Linked DNA regions of Homo sapiens: region 1 is linked to region 2. The links are contacts of gene promoters, found by promoter capture Hi-C in human tissues and cell types (Jung and others, 2019). All regions are on one chromosome and are shown on one strand. Each heading gives the region's core, a stretch centred on a gene start or on the middle of the fragment in contact. The rest is flanking DNA. Distances are from core to core; before and after follow the strand shown. Region 1 has its middle 120 kb from the start of RRAGC. Region 2 holds the start of SF3A3 (splicing factor 3a subunit 3).

Region 1 (6,643 bases), core at 3,226-5,725, 750 kb after region 2:
TGAAATGACCCATTCATGCAAGATAAGACCTGTGCCTCAAGAAAAATGCCTTTGCTTTTGGCTGCAATTATTTCAATTCATGTGGTCACACTCTCTCAAGCTGACCTGACATTTCAAGCTGCAGCTTGATATATCTTTGCTCAACAAAAGATGGGAAACAAATTAGTTTTTACTTAATGACTTCAATGTTTTGGGGAGAAAAAATCTTTGAGTTTGTGTGCAGAGGTTCAGTAACTGGCCAGAAGACATACAGCTTGTAAGCGATGGTGTCTGACTTAGAACCCAGATCTGACTGACCCCCAAGTCAGGACTCTCTCTATTATGGAGGCAGTTCAAGGACACACACACATTTTGTCATCCTCTTCATATTACTTGTCCCTAAACCTCTCCTTTTATAATGCAAAGTACTTCTGCTAAACCCCATGTTCCTCCCCACCTTCCCATCCCTATTCTATCTTTGGTTTTAAAAACTTTCATTCATCTTTATTGAATTCCTTTTTTCAGGTGCTGCCAAATTTACCAGCTGGCCAAGATTTTTCCCCATTCTATATTGTCATGCATGCAAATCATTTTGCTAGTGCTCCCCACAAATAGGACGACTCTGCGTCCTTTAGTCAGGTACTGAGCTCCATAGTCCCCTCTGGAAATCAGGTAACTAGCAACCTGTCAATCAATTTGGATGCATCTCACAGACAAGGTACTCAAGATGGAACTCCTAATTCCTCCCCAAGTCTTCCCACCTGCAGCATGGTACCACCATCAATTCAGCTGGGGGAGGGAGGAATCTAATCCTCTGTATTCCTCGTCCCCCACATCTTATCTATCAGTAAGTTCTTTCCACTCAACCTCCAATAGAAGTGCTAAATCCACCACTTCTTGCCTTCACCACTGTCACCAGCAGTTCTAAATCACTATCGTCTCTCACCTGGACCCCTGCAAGTGTCCTAATTAGTCTTCCTGCAACTATTCATGCCCCTTCCAGCACCTGTTCCACAAGGCAGCCAGAGTAATCAGCCATTGGAAACAGCATCAGATCACACCACTCCCCTGCTTAAAACCCTTTTCTATCAGAATGCAAGTTCTGTAAGATTTGGAACCCAACTCTCATCTTCACCTCGTATCCCTAGTACCTACAGTACAACGGTGCCAGCACAAAGTAGGTACTCAGTAAATATTGCTTGCATGAATGAATCAAGTGATAACCTTAATTGCAAACATCCAAAATCTTCTATTATTTATAGAAAAGTGGCTCTATCTCTTTTCATTTTTATTCCAACATTGTAGTGGTTGTTCTCTAATTTCTGTGGAGATGTCAACATATGTAGACTCTAGGCAATTTATTTTTCCCCTTCCCTCCAGAAGTAAAGTAAAAGGAATATGTGACTCACACACACAGATGCATCTCACGCCAGTTGTGTTGCTTGAGAATAGATGGGAGATTATGCTGATTGAACTGGACAGTTTCCATTTTTATTATTTTAATTATAAACACAAACTATTGGGGGTAAAATCTTATGGAAATCTGCCTATCAATTTCACAATTAACATCTCATTTCAAGAGACCAATCAACTCAAATGAGGGCCAGTGACCTTAATCTTTCCCCAAATACAGTGTTTGATTCCTCTTATTAGTTGAAAATCTCCGAACTATGAAACATGTGGGTTAGACCGATGTTTGCTTCAACGATGCTATCAGCCACATTTCAGTAAGTCAAGGAATTTTTGTGACCTTTGCGTTACAGTTTGTATGGACAAAAGAAGGAAGGCTAAAGCTGTGCAAATCAAGTAGGAGAAATAACAAGGCCACTTAAGTAGGGTCTCTTTTTTTCATTTATTTTTCTAAGACTGTGGAAGGAAGTGTGATTTTAAGGCAACTTATTTTGCCACTGATTAGCTAAAATTAACCCAAGAAGAGAGTAAAGCCCAGAAGTGAAAGGCAGCTAATTTTAATCCTAAAGGTCTGTAAAAAATCCTATCAGAAAAATAAAATTCTCTTTGTGATATAGGAGAAAAAAAAACTTGGCTTTTAAAAAGAAATGCAACAGAAAAAGACAAATTTGACCTGGCAAACAATGCGTCTACTTAACATCAATACTCCTGCAAAGATTAGAACAAGACCATACACTCTGCAGGGTTAATCACTACTCCCAAAACACCAGAGGTTCCACCTAAGTAAACGCGGGACATGTACACACAGGTACCAACCAATCATTAGAACTAGACAGACCAATTACTAATAGCCTGTTAACAACCAGTTGGGCAATTTCACTTTGGAGTAGACTTGGGGCACACAAGATGCCAAAACTACCCCTGAAACATTTCAAGGTCAGCCAAGAAGCTGCCAGTCTTGTCTCTCTGACTGCATTGATTGATGTGCCTTGAGCAGCTCCATCCAAGCCTTTGCGGGGGTGAAGGATTTTTCTTCAACCTGCTCACATGGATGATTGGCTGTTTGGGATCTGTATGGCTAGAATTCTTAAGCTGCAAGAAATAGAAACCAACGTAAGCTAAGCTGAGGCAGCAAAGGGGAATTCATTAAAAGGATATAAGACTGTTTCTTGGAACTCAAGGGCACAAATGGCACCAGACCTCAAGAAAGAACTTGCTGCAGGTCTCTTTTCTGTTCCTTTCATCCATTTGCTTCTCAGTTCACAACAGAAAGAAATGGCCACCCCCTACTCCCAAGTCCCCATCTATTCTTTTCTACAGACCATCCCAGCCAGTCCTAGAATTTTTGAGTCTCAAATTTTGAGGAGAAAGAAACTGAATTGTCAAATTTGGATCAGGTATACCATACTATACCTTCAACCATGACCAAGTGGACTGTAACACAATGCAGACATGACTATAAGGGTTGGTGCACAAGGATGAGGAGGGAAATTCAGGAAGATTACCATGAGGTAGGCAGAATCTTCCAGAAAGTATCTAATAAAGGACTACATTATCACAACCAGAGCCAACTGAACTAGCCTAACACACAGAGCCGGGGTCAAGCCAAATGATTCCCATTGTACCTTTGGTCAGACCTTCTCCATAGGGCAAGAGGCCAGTACCCAGTAGAAACGAATAACCTGCAGCTGCTTCACAATGCTCTGGGAGAGGAGCCACAGCTATACTCTCTGAGAGCACCCTGTATTCTTCTTCATCCTGCTTATGACAGTTTGTAATCCTACATTTATTTTAAACTTGTTTAATGAGCATCTCTCTCCATCACTCAGTTTGAAGCTCTACAAACAAGGTCAGGTACCATATTGGTTTTACTTCCTGTCCTAGTCCATTTTTGCATTGCTATAAAGAAATATCTGGGACTGGGTAATTTATAAAGAAAAGAGGTTTAATTGGCTCATAGTTCTGCAGGCTGTACAGGAAGCATGATGCTGGCATCTTCTCGGCTTCTGGGGAGGCCTCAGGAAACTTATGATCATTGCATAAGGTGAAGGGAGAGGAGGCACGTAGGCACATTACATGGTGAAAGAAGGAATAAGAAAGAGAGCAGGGAGGTGCTACACATTTTTAAATGACCAGATCTCACAAGAACTTACTATCACAAGGACAGTACCAAGGGGAATGGTGCCAAACCATTCATGAAAAACTACCCCCATGATCCAATCACCTCCCACCAGGCCCCAACTCCAATACTGGGGATTACAGTTCAATATGAGTTTTGGGCAGGGACATAGATTCAAACCATATCACTTCCCTTCATCTTCCTGGCACCATGCCTGACACATACTGAATACTCATCAAAGAGTGAATAAAATGAATGGAGTGGAGGAGTCCAAGGAAGTTTTGCCAGATGATTTGGTACATGAGTTGAGTCTCAAAGGACAAACAGAGTCTTTTAGGAGAACAAGCTGGGAGAGCATCCCTGGCAGAGGGAATGACAGAGGGCCCAAAGGCACATAGTGCAAATACCACAGAAATGGTGAGGCAGCTTGCGGCAAGAGAGCTGGCCAGGAAGTAGAGGTGGAGGTCACCTCATCTTGCATAGAGACTGGAGGGCTCAGAGCTAGGAATGACGTGTCTAGATTGTAGACTAATCCATCTGATGGGAATGTGGGAGCTGGACTGGAGGCAGGAAGATGAGCTCGAAAGCTTATGTAATCATCCAAGAGAAAAAAGCAATGGTAGTGAGGATGGGGAGGAAAAGATTTTAAAAGTTAGTAAGGAAGTAGGATCAGCAGAAATTCAGGGAATACAATTTTGTCATTTGATGACCTAGTTATTTATGTACGTCTTATCGCCCATGCAAGACTGTGAGCTTCTGACTCAGTCTTCCTCATTCCTGTGATACCACGGCTGTTATGCAGTGCCCACCCAACACACAGCAAGTTTGTTGAGAAAATAAACTAATGAATGATTGAATCACTACCACCAACCAAAGTGGGGACAGCTGCCAGGATGGGGGGCCACACAGTGTCCTTTGAGGGTTTCATAGAAGTTTGCTGCTTGTATGTTTATCTTGCCTCCATAAAATGCTTAGAGGTGCTAAACTTCTTTTACAGTCCCCTCAACCCCCAACACAGGCCTGGACTCAGGGTAAAATGTCAGCCATACATCCCTGTTTAATGAGCTAGACTGGAGCAGACTGAAATGGAAATAGAAGGGGTCTCCTATTCTTTAGAAAGAACCTAATATGTAGACCCAAAGTGAGAGGAGAGACTGGTAGACCTTCCCCATTGTAGGTGTGGCAGGGATCCTCTGCCAGGGCTTCTGTGAAGATAACCTAACCTAACTGAGCTGCCCCTCATAGGCAAGCACTAGCAGAAGAGAGGATAAATCCCCTTCAATGGACCAAAAACACTGGAACCCCTTGGCAAAGACCAGAGTCCAAAAGCTTCAAAGAGCTGAGACTGAGCCTGAACAAATACCAGAAGCTTCTGACCTTAGGAAATGATGCAAGTGAATTAAGGGTGTTCCTAGCTCTGTTCTCAGTAACATGGTGAATGAATGAACAAGCGCATGAACAAACTAATAAGCAAATGTTTTCTACCTATTTATGATTTTTTTAAAAAAAGAGCTGACTGGAAATACATAATTTTTAATAAATAGAGATATTACGTTTTACCTAGGGGCCTCTATTATTATCTTGAAAACAGAGTTTGATTCAAACATTTGTTTCATTTCAAGAAAAGGTTCTATACAGAAATCATAAAGTAACCGGAGTGTGTTGTATAGCCTGATGGTCTCCCACACAGGGCAAGCCTGGCCTTTCAACTCTCACAGCAAACAACAATTTCACCTGCACATTCACCAGTGGCAGCTACCCAACGGGAGGCAAAAAAACCATGGGGGCGTAATTAGCCCACGATGATTTCAAGTATTTTGGTTGGCCTTAAAATTGTCGCTGTCCTATCAGTCAACATTTCCCCATAATTACCTCGATGGAAATTTTCTGTACACACAAACCAGTTTTACTGAATCACGCATTACGAAGAAGAAGGAAAAAAGGTGAATGCTGAATTTTGTAAAAAACAAAACTACACTGCAGGCCGGGCGCAGTGGCTCATGCCTGTAATCCCAGCACTTTGGGAGGCCGAGGTGGGCGGATCACGAGGTCTGGAGATCGAGACCATCCTGGCTAACACGGTGAAACCCCGTCTCTACTAAAAATACAAAAACAAAAAAATAGCCGGGCGTGGTGGCAGGCACCTGTAGTCCCAGCTACTCGGGACGCTGAGGTGGGAAAATGGCGTGAACCTGGGAGGCAGAGCTTGCAGTGAGCCGAGATTGCACCACTGCACTCCAGCCTGGGTGACAGAGCGCAAGACTCCGTCTCAAAAAAAAAAAAAAAAAAAAAACTACACTGCAAAAAAACCTGTACCAAAACCTATCTTGGTAGGTTTTCTTATATCTTTTTGGTTATGCATGTTTAACTTATAAATATTTTCTCATGTTACTAAAAACCTCTGCCCAAACACACTTTTAGCAGTTGCATAATATTCCTTCAAGTAGCTGAGCTGTGGCTTACTTAACCATTAGCCTCATTTTGGGCAATCAGACCTGTCTCCATATTGTTACATTATACACAGTGCTGTAAGGAATATCCCCTGTGCATAGAGTGGTTTCTATGTATCAAGTTAACCAGCTCGGAGGAACTCTGGGATGCGCAATTGAGAGGGATGATGCACACCTCTGTGTACATTTCCTAAAAGAAGACATTGCTTTTGTGCCCTGCACAGATTACAAGGCAGAACCAAGACTATGACTTCTGAGTGCCTTCCAGCTTGAAGAACCACACAGGCCAAAATTCCCCATGATTGGCAGCTTCAGAATCTCAGGACGGTATTAGGGCCCAGGTATTTGTATCTGAAGCTCTCCAGGGAAGGAAACACTGTGTCACATCCCACACACAGAAATACCCCCTCACAGGTGCACAGCCTACAAAGGAATCTGTGGACCAGAGCGCCTCATTGCAAACAGCTGAAGCTAATTGTAGCTGGCATAAGCAGCAAAGGCAAGATGATCCTTCAGCTCACAGCACCGAGGGGAGAACCCAGCTCCAAAGCAGGTAGAAACTCGGGAAGTCAGGAGGGGTCTGGGTAGGATACCACCTCCAGCTGCTGGCTCCACAGCCACTGGGAGGAATTCTAATACGCCCCCTACTCTGCGTGTCACTCAGCCAAGAGCCACTGCACAGGGT
Region 2 (6,160 bases), core at 720-3,219:
TTTAAGCAGGTCGATTGGAAGATTACCTAAATGATACATTTAAGGGGTGGCTCCTATCTTTACATACCACCGATGCCTAACTTCCCCTGTAACAGACTCACCCTCTTTGGCCAAACACTAGTTCCCACCTAACATCCTCAAAGATAAAGATGATATTCACTATTTCAAAACGCTTGACTGAGGAGTAGGCAGGCTAAATAAACATTACATAGGCTTCCTTTGTAGTCAAAGTATACTAATTCAGGATGGTACAGGTACATAGTCCCTCCTCCAAAACTTTTGGGACCAGATTTGTTTCAGAATTTGGAATGTTTAAGTTCAAAAGAGGTATCATATATTATGTAACATCCCTAGTGGAATCTGGAGCACACAGTTCTGCAGTAAACCTCATACCTTATTTACCAAGTGGGATAAATTAAAGACCATAAAAAGCCTATCACAGGTTCGGGCCAGGTTTTACTGTCAAGTGAGATCAGGTCAGATTTTGACACCAAATAATCACCCAAGGGGAAAAAAAGAAAATCCTTGGTTTTCAGAGTATTTTGGGGCTGAGGGCTTGTAATCTGATAATCTCCTGCAAATCAGAAGGTCCAAGTAGGTCTTTTATTCCTTTTTAAACAGGTTTCAAACATACACAAGAGTAAGGAACGTAGTAAAATGAACCTCCATTTATTCATCACCCAGTTTAAATAGCATCTTGTTTTTCTTTTAATAAACTGAACTATTACCAGACAAATGCAGTTTAGTAGTCCAAAACGCTTTAAAGTAGTATCCTGGGAGAAAAACACTAACATACGGGGTGTGTTGTGTGTGTGTGTGTGTGTGTGTATATATATATATATATTTTTTTTTTCATTTAAGGGAAGGATTGTAGCTATGCACCTGAGTCATGGACTCTTCATAACTATTGTTTGCACATCCAAGGGATACAGGATGCTGTAAGAATGGGCACGTGTAAGCCGGCCGCGGTGGCTCAAGCCTGTAATCTCAGCACTTTGGGAGGCCGAGGTAGGTGGATCACGAGGTCAGGAGTTCGAGACCAGCCTGACCAACATGTTTAGTAGAAACTCCGTCTCTACTAAAAATACAAAAATTAGCTGAGCGTGGTGGCGAGCGCCTGTAGTCCCAACTACTCCGGAGGCTGAGGCAGGAGAATCGCTTGAACCCAGGAGGCGGAGGTTGCAGTGAGCCGAGACCGCGCCACTGCACTCCAGCCTAGGCAACAGAGCGAGACTCCGTCCAAAAGAAGAAGAAGAAGAAAAAAAAAAAGGGCACCTTTCTGATTAATGAAGAATGCCCAAGAGTTCCCCATTCAGAGAACTGAGGAAGCACCCTCACGTTCGGCAGCCTGTGGACATCTGTCCAGGCAGAGAGCCCGCGACTGGCCAATCCGGTTACCTTTGGCCAGGGACTCATGCTGAGACACCGCACTTCACTTCCCCTCTCTTTTCCCGCCCTCGCCAACCCAAAGAGAGGCAGACAGCTGGGCACTCACATCTTGCATGGCCCGAGTGCGGTGATCAGAATTGATCTGGTCCCGGAGCTGAAAAAACAAACGGTGACACAAACGCCGTTAGTTTGCGTTCTGGAGTAGAAAAGGCCGCCCGAGGGCGGAGCTTACCCGCTCAGCTTTTACCAGCTGAGGCAGAAAGGCCTCTGGGGCTCCGGACCCCGGGAGGAGGTTACCAAGACCGGAGCTCGGAGAGGGAGCCCGGAGGAAGGCAGGGAGGTTCTGAGGGCCAAAGCAAGCTCTCAGAGGTCAAACACGGGATAGAGGCTCGTGCTCCTGCCGCAGCCTCTGCTCAGGCCCCACTCACCGTGGACTTCTTGGTGAGCATCTCTTTAGCCATGACGTCCATGAGCCGTTCCTTCTCCTCATGATAGCGCCGCTGCTGCTCCAGTATTGTCTCCATCTTCCCTTAGTCGCGGCTTCTCAATTCAGACCACCAACACGGCCGGAAGCAACTCCTGCCGCCCAGCGCGCCTGAGTCCCCACGTTGCGCATCAGGCTGCACCAAAGTTCCGCGAGTGCCGGAAGTGCCCCGGGACTTAAGAAAACAGGAGCACCACAAGGAAGGCCAGTCCATGTTATGGAGATGGCAACAGTGCCACCTGCTGGTGGGAGGTGTGGTGGAGCGATGCCGAGAGGTTCGCAGATGCCTCCAGGGGGCATAGGAAAACCCAAGAACCTGAGGTTCAGCGGACGGCTTCCTGCGGCTTGCTGGGGCCGGCTTGGCGGGCAGGTATCCTGTGTGGACTGCGCGAGCAGTTGGAGTGCGGATGGGAGTTGGGAAACCGGAACTTGAGGACGCAGCTTTCAGCATAAATTATGAGAACGTTTTCTCTTTCTCTGGACCTCAGCGTCTTTCTCAGGAAAATGGGAATAGTGGGGTTTTGCTGGTGGTGTTTTTAAAAAAATTCACATGTGAGGCCGGGCGCGGTAGCTCACGCCTGTAATCCCAACACTTTGGGAGGCCGAGGCGGGCGGATCACTTGAGGTCAGAGGTTCGAGACGACCAGGCTGGCTAACATGGTGAAACCCCGTCTCTACTAAAAACAAACAAACAAAAATTAGCCGGGCGTGATGGCAGGCGCCTGTAGTCCCAGCTACTCCGGAGGCTGAGGCAGGAGAATCGCTTGAACCCGGGAAGCAGAGGTTGCCGTCAGCTGAGATCGTGCCACTGCACTCCAGCCTGGGCGACAGAATGAGACTCAGTCTCAAAAAAAAAAAAAAAAAAGAAATTCACGTGTAGAAACGACTTGTCTATCGGCAGCGAATATGTTAAATAAAATACTGTGCATCCAACGAGATCAGGAGATTGAGACCATCCTGTCTAACACGGTGAAACCCCGTCTCTACTAAAACTGCAAAAAATTAGCCGGGCATGGTGGCGCGCGCCTGTAGTCACAGCTACTCGGGAGGCTGAGGCAGGAGAATCACTTGAACCCAGGAGGCAGAGGTTGCAGTGAGCTGAGATCATGCCACTGCATTCCAGCTTGGGCGACAGAGAGAGACTCCGTCTCAAAAAAAAGTAAAATAAAATAAAATAAAATACTGTGCATCCAAGCAGTGGAAGACCAGCTGTGAAATGACATACAGCCTTAAAAAAAATTCTGTCTATATATCTCCACTTGTAGGTAGAGAAATGCAAACATGTCCATGTGTTCATATGTTCACAGCGGCATTATTCATAATAGACAAAAACTGGATGCAGCCCAAGAGTCCATTAACTGGCAAATGGATAAAGTGTGGTATATCTATACAGTACAATGGAACATTATTCTGCAATAAATGAATACTACAATGATGAACCATGAAAGCATCATGCTAAGTGAAAGAAGCTAGACAGAAAAACAACAGTGTATGTCCAGATAAAACGTCCAGAACGGTGTTAAAAGAAAAACACTGGTGCTTGCTATGGCAGCACATATACTAAAATTGGAACCATACAGAGAAGATTAGCATGGCCCCTGCAAAAAGAAAAAAAAAAAAAAACACCGGTTATTACAGCTTGGTCTTTGCCTTATTTGAACACGGTTTGCATAGTTTGCCATGTTTGATTGGCCAAAACTCGGTGATTGGCAAAGAGTAGGCTATGGTCTGTTTACAACTCCATTTAGGTTATAGTTCACAATGTACAGAGAAACCTTTAGGCTAAATTTAAAATATGTAAGGAGGCAGCTTTAGGCTACAATTGAGTTAACAAAGGCAAATCTATGGAGGCAGAAATATGAGTGGTTGCTTGTGACCGCAGGTGAGATTGGAAGTGATTACAAATGCGCACAAGGAATCCATTTTGGATGGGTAGAAATGTTCTAAAATTGGATTGTGGTGATAGTTGCATAACTCTATTCATTTTATTAAAATTAATTGCTTTGTACTGTTAAAAATGGGTGAATTTTATGGTATATAAATTACACTTCAATAAAACTGTTAAAAACTCTGTATGAACTCATATGGAGAGATGGCCACACAAACTGAAAAAAGCTAGATGCACAAGTGTGTATAAAAATAGATGTGCAAAGAGATTATTTCTGTAAGGATATCCAAGTAACAGTAAACAGTGGTTGTTCCTGAGCAGACAGCCTTGGAGATCTGATATGGGAGATTTTTCTTTGTATACACCCCAAGCACAGCATAAAAAGTTATTCTTAAACATACTTTTTCAATTTAAAAATTAATTTAAAACTGAAAATACATATGTGCACATTTATGTTTAACAAAAAAGAACGAGGAGGACATAATGCATCACATTATTAGTAATTTACCTATTGTTCACTTTTTTCTTTTTTTTCTTTTTCTTTTTTTTTTTGATAGGGTCTCTCTCTGTTGCCCCAGGCTGGAGTGCAGTGGCATAATCATGGCTCACTGCAGCCTCCACCCCTGTGGCCCCCACAGGTGGGTGCCACCACCCTGGTTAATTTTTTATTTTTTTCCCACGCAACAAAAGCCACATTTAAAGTTTTGTTTTGGGAGTCTCGCTCTGTCGCCAGGCTGGAGTGCAGTGGCGCGATCTCAGCTCACGGCAACCTCTACCTCCTGTGTTCAAGCGATTCTCCTGCCTCAGCCTCCTGAGTAGCTGGGATTACAGGTGACTGCCACCACACCTGGCTAGTTTTTGTATTTTTAGTAGAGACGGGCTTTCACTATGTTGGCCAGGCTGGTCCTGAACTCCTGACCTCCGGGTGATCTGCCTGCCTTGGCCTCCCAAAATGCTGGGATTACAGGTGTGAGCCACCGCACACCAAAAAACTGCGAGGTTTTTTGTTTTTTGTTTTTTTTTGAGACAGGGTCTTTCTGTGTCATCCAAGCTGGAGTGCAGTGGCACGATCTTGGCTCACTGCAACCTCTACCTCCTGGGTTCAAGCAATTCTGCCTCAGTCTCCCTAGTAGCTGGGATTACAGGTGCGTGGCACCATGCCCAGCTAATTTTTGTATTTTTAGCAGAGATGGGGTTTTGCTATGTTGGCCAGGCTGGTCTTGAACTCCTGCCCTCAGGGTGATCCGCCCACCTTGGCCTCCCAAAATGCTGGAATTACAGGCATGAGCTACCACACCAAGCCAAGGTTTTTCTTTTTTTTTTGAGACAGGGTCTTGCCAAGCTGGAGTACAGTGGCACAATCTTGGCTCACTGCAGCCTCGACCTCCTGGGCTAAAGCTATCCTCCCACTTCAGCCTCCTGAGTAGCTGGGACTATAGATGTGCGCCACTACACCCTGCTAATTTTTGTATTTTTTGTAGAGATGGGGTTTTTTGCCGTGTTGCCCAGGCTGGTCTCAAACTCCTGGACTCAAGCGATCTTCCTGCCTTGGCCTCCCAAAATGCTGGGATTATAGGCATGAGCCACCAGACCCGCTGTAATTTTTTAAAAATTTTTACTAGAGATGAGGTCTCACAGTGGTGCCCAGGCTTGTCTGCAACTCCTGAGCTCAAGCAATCCTCCTGCCTTGGCCTCCCAAAGTGCTGGGATTATAGGCGTGAGCCACCGCACCCAGCCCAATTTTTCTACAGTAAACATGCATTACTTTTTGTTTTTAAAAGTTTGAAAGCAGGCTGGGTGCAGTGGCTCACGCCTGTAATCCCAGCACTTTGGGAGGCCAAGCTGGGAATTTCGCTTAAAGCCAGGAGTTCTAGAACAGTCTGGGCAACATAGCGAGACCTCATCTCTACAAAAAATAAGAAAATTAGCTGGGCTTGCTGGCATTTGCCCGTACTCCCAGCTACCTGGGAGGCTGAGGCGGGAGGATCACTTGAGCCCAGGGGTTTGAGGTTACAGTGAGCTATAATCTTCAAGCCTGGGTGACACCCTGTCTCAAAAAAGAAAAAAAAAGTTTGAAAAAACGGAGGCTGGGCATGGTGGCTCACGCCTGTAATCCCAGCACTTTGGGAGGCCGAGGCGGCAGATCACGAGGTCAAGAGATCAAGACCATCCTGGCCAACATGGTGAAACCCCTGTCTCTACTAAAAATACAACAAAATTAGCTGGGCATGGTGGCGCACGCCTGTAGTCCCAGCTACTTGAGAGGCTGAGGCAGGAGAATCACTTGAACCCGGCAGGTGGAGGTTGTAGTGAGCCGAGATCGCGCCACTGCACTCCAGCCTGGCGATAGAGTGAGACTCTGTCTCAATAAATAAATAAATATAAAATGGAAATAGTGA

The links. Contacts are between HindIII fragments. The study calls those that stand out against the background at their distance.
Region 1: a fragment that was not itself captured here is called in contact with the fragment with the promoter of SF3A3 in region 2 in 1 of the 25 tissues and cell types used here (lymphoblastoid cells).

What each region holds. Positions count from the first base shown.
Region 1 is chr1:38,731,757-38,738,399 of GRCh38, forward strand. No RefSeq gene overlaps it. Among named protein-coding and RNA genes, the nearest start is that of RRAGC, 120 kb to the right of the region's middle. The HindIII fragment of the contact is 4,885 bases long and covers 2,034-6,643 here.
Region 2 is chr1:37,988,053-37,994,212 of GRCh38, forward strand. It overlaps SF3A3 (splicing factor 3a subunit 3), which reads right to left and starts at 1,970. Exons shown (of 17, transcript NM_006802.4): 1 at 1,818-1,970; 2 at 1,496-1,543. The coding sequence starts at 1,913. It also overlaps the pseudogene RNU6-510P. RefSeq lists enhancers at 1,222-1,321, 2,022-2,191, 2,583-3,128. The HindIII fragment of the contact is 23,460 bases long and covers 1-6,160 here.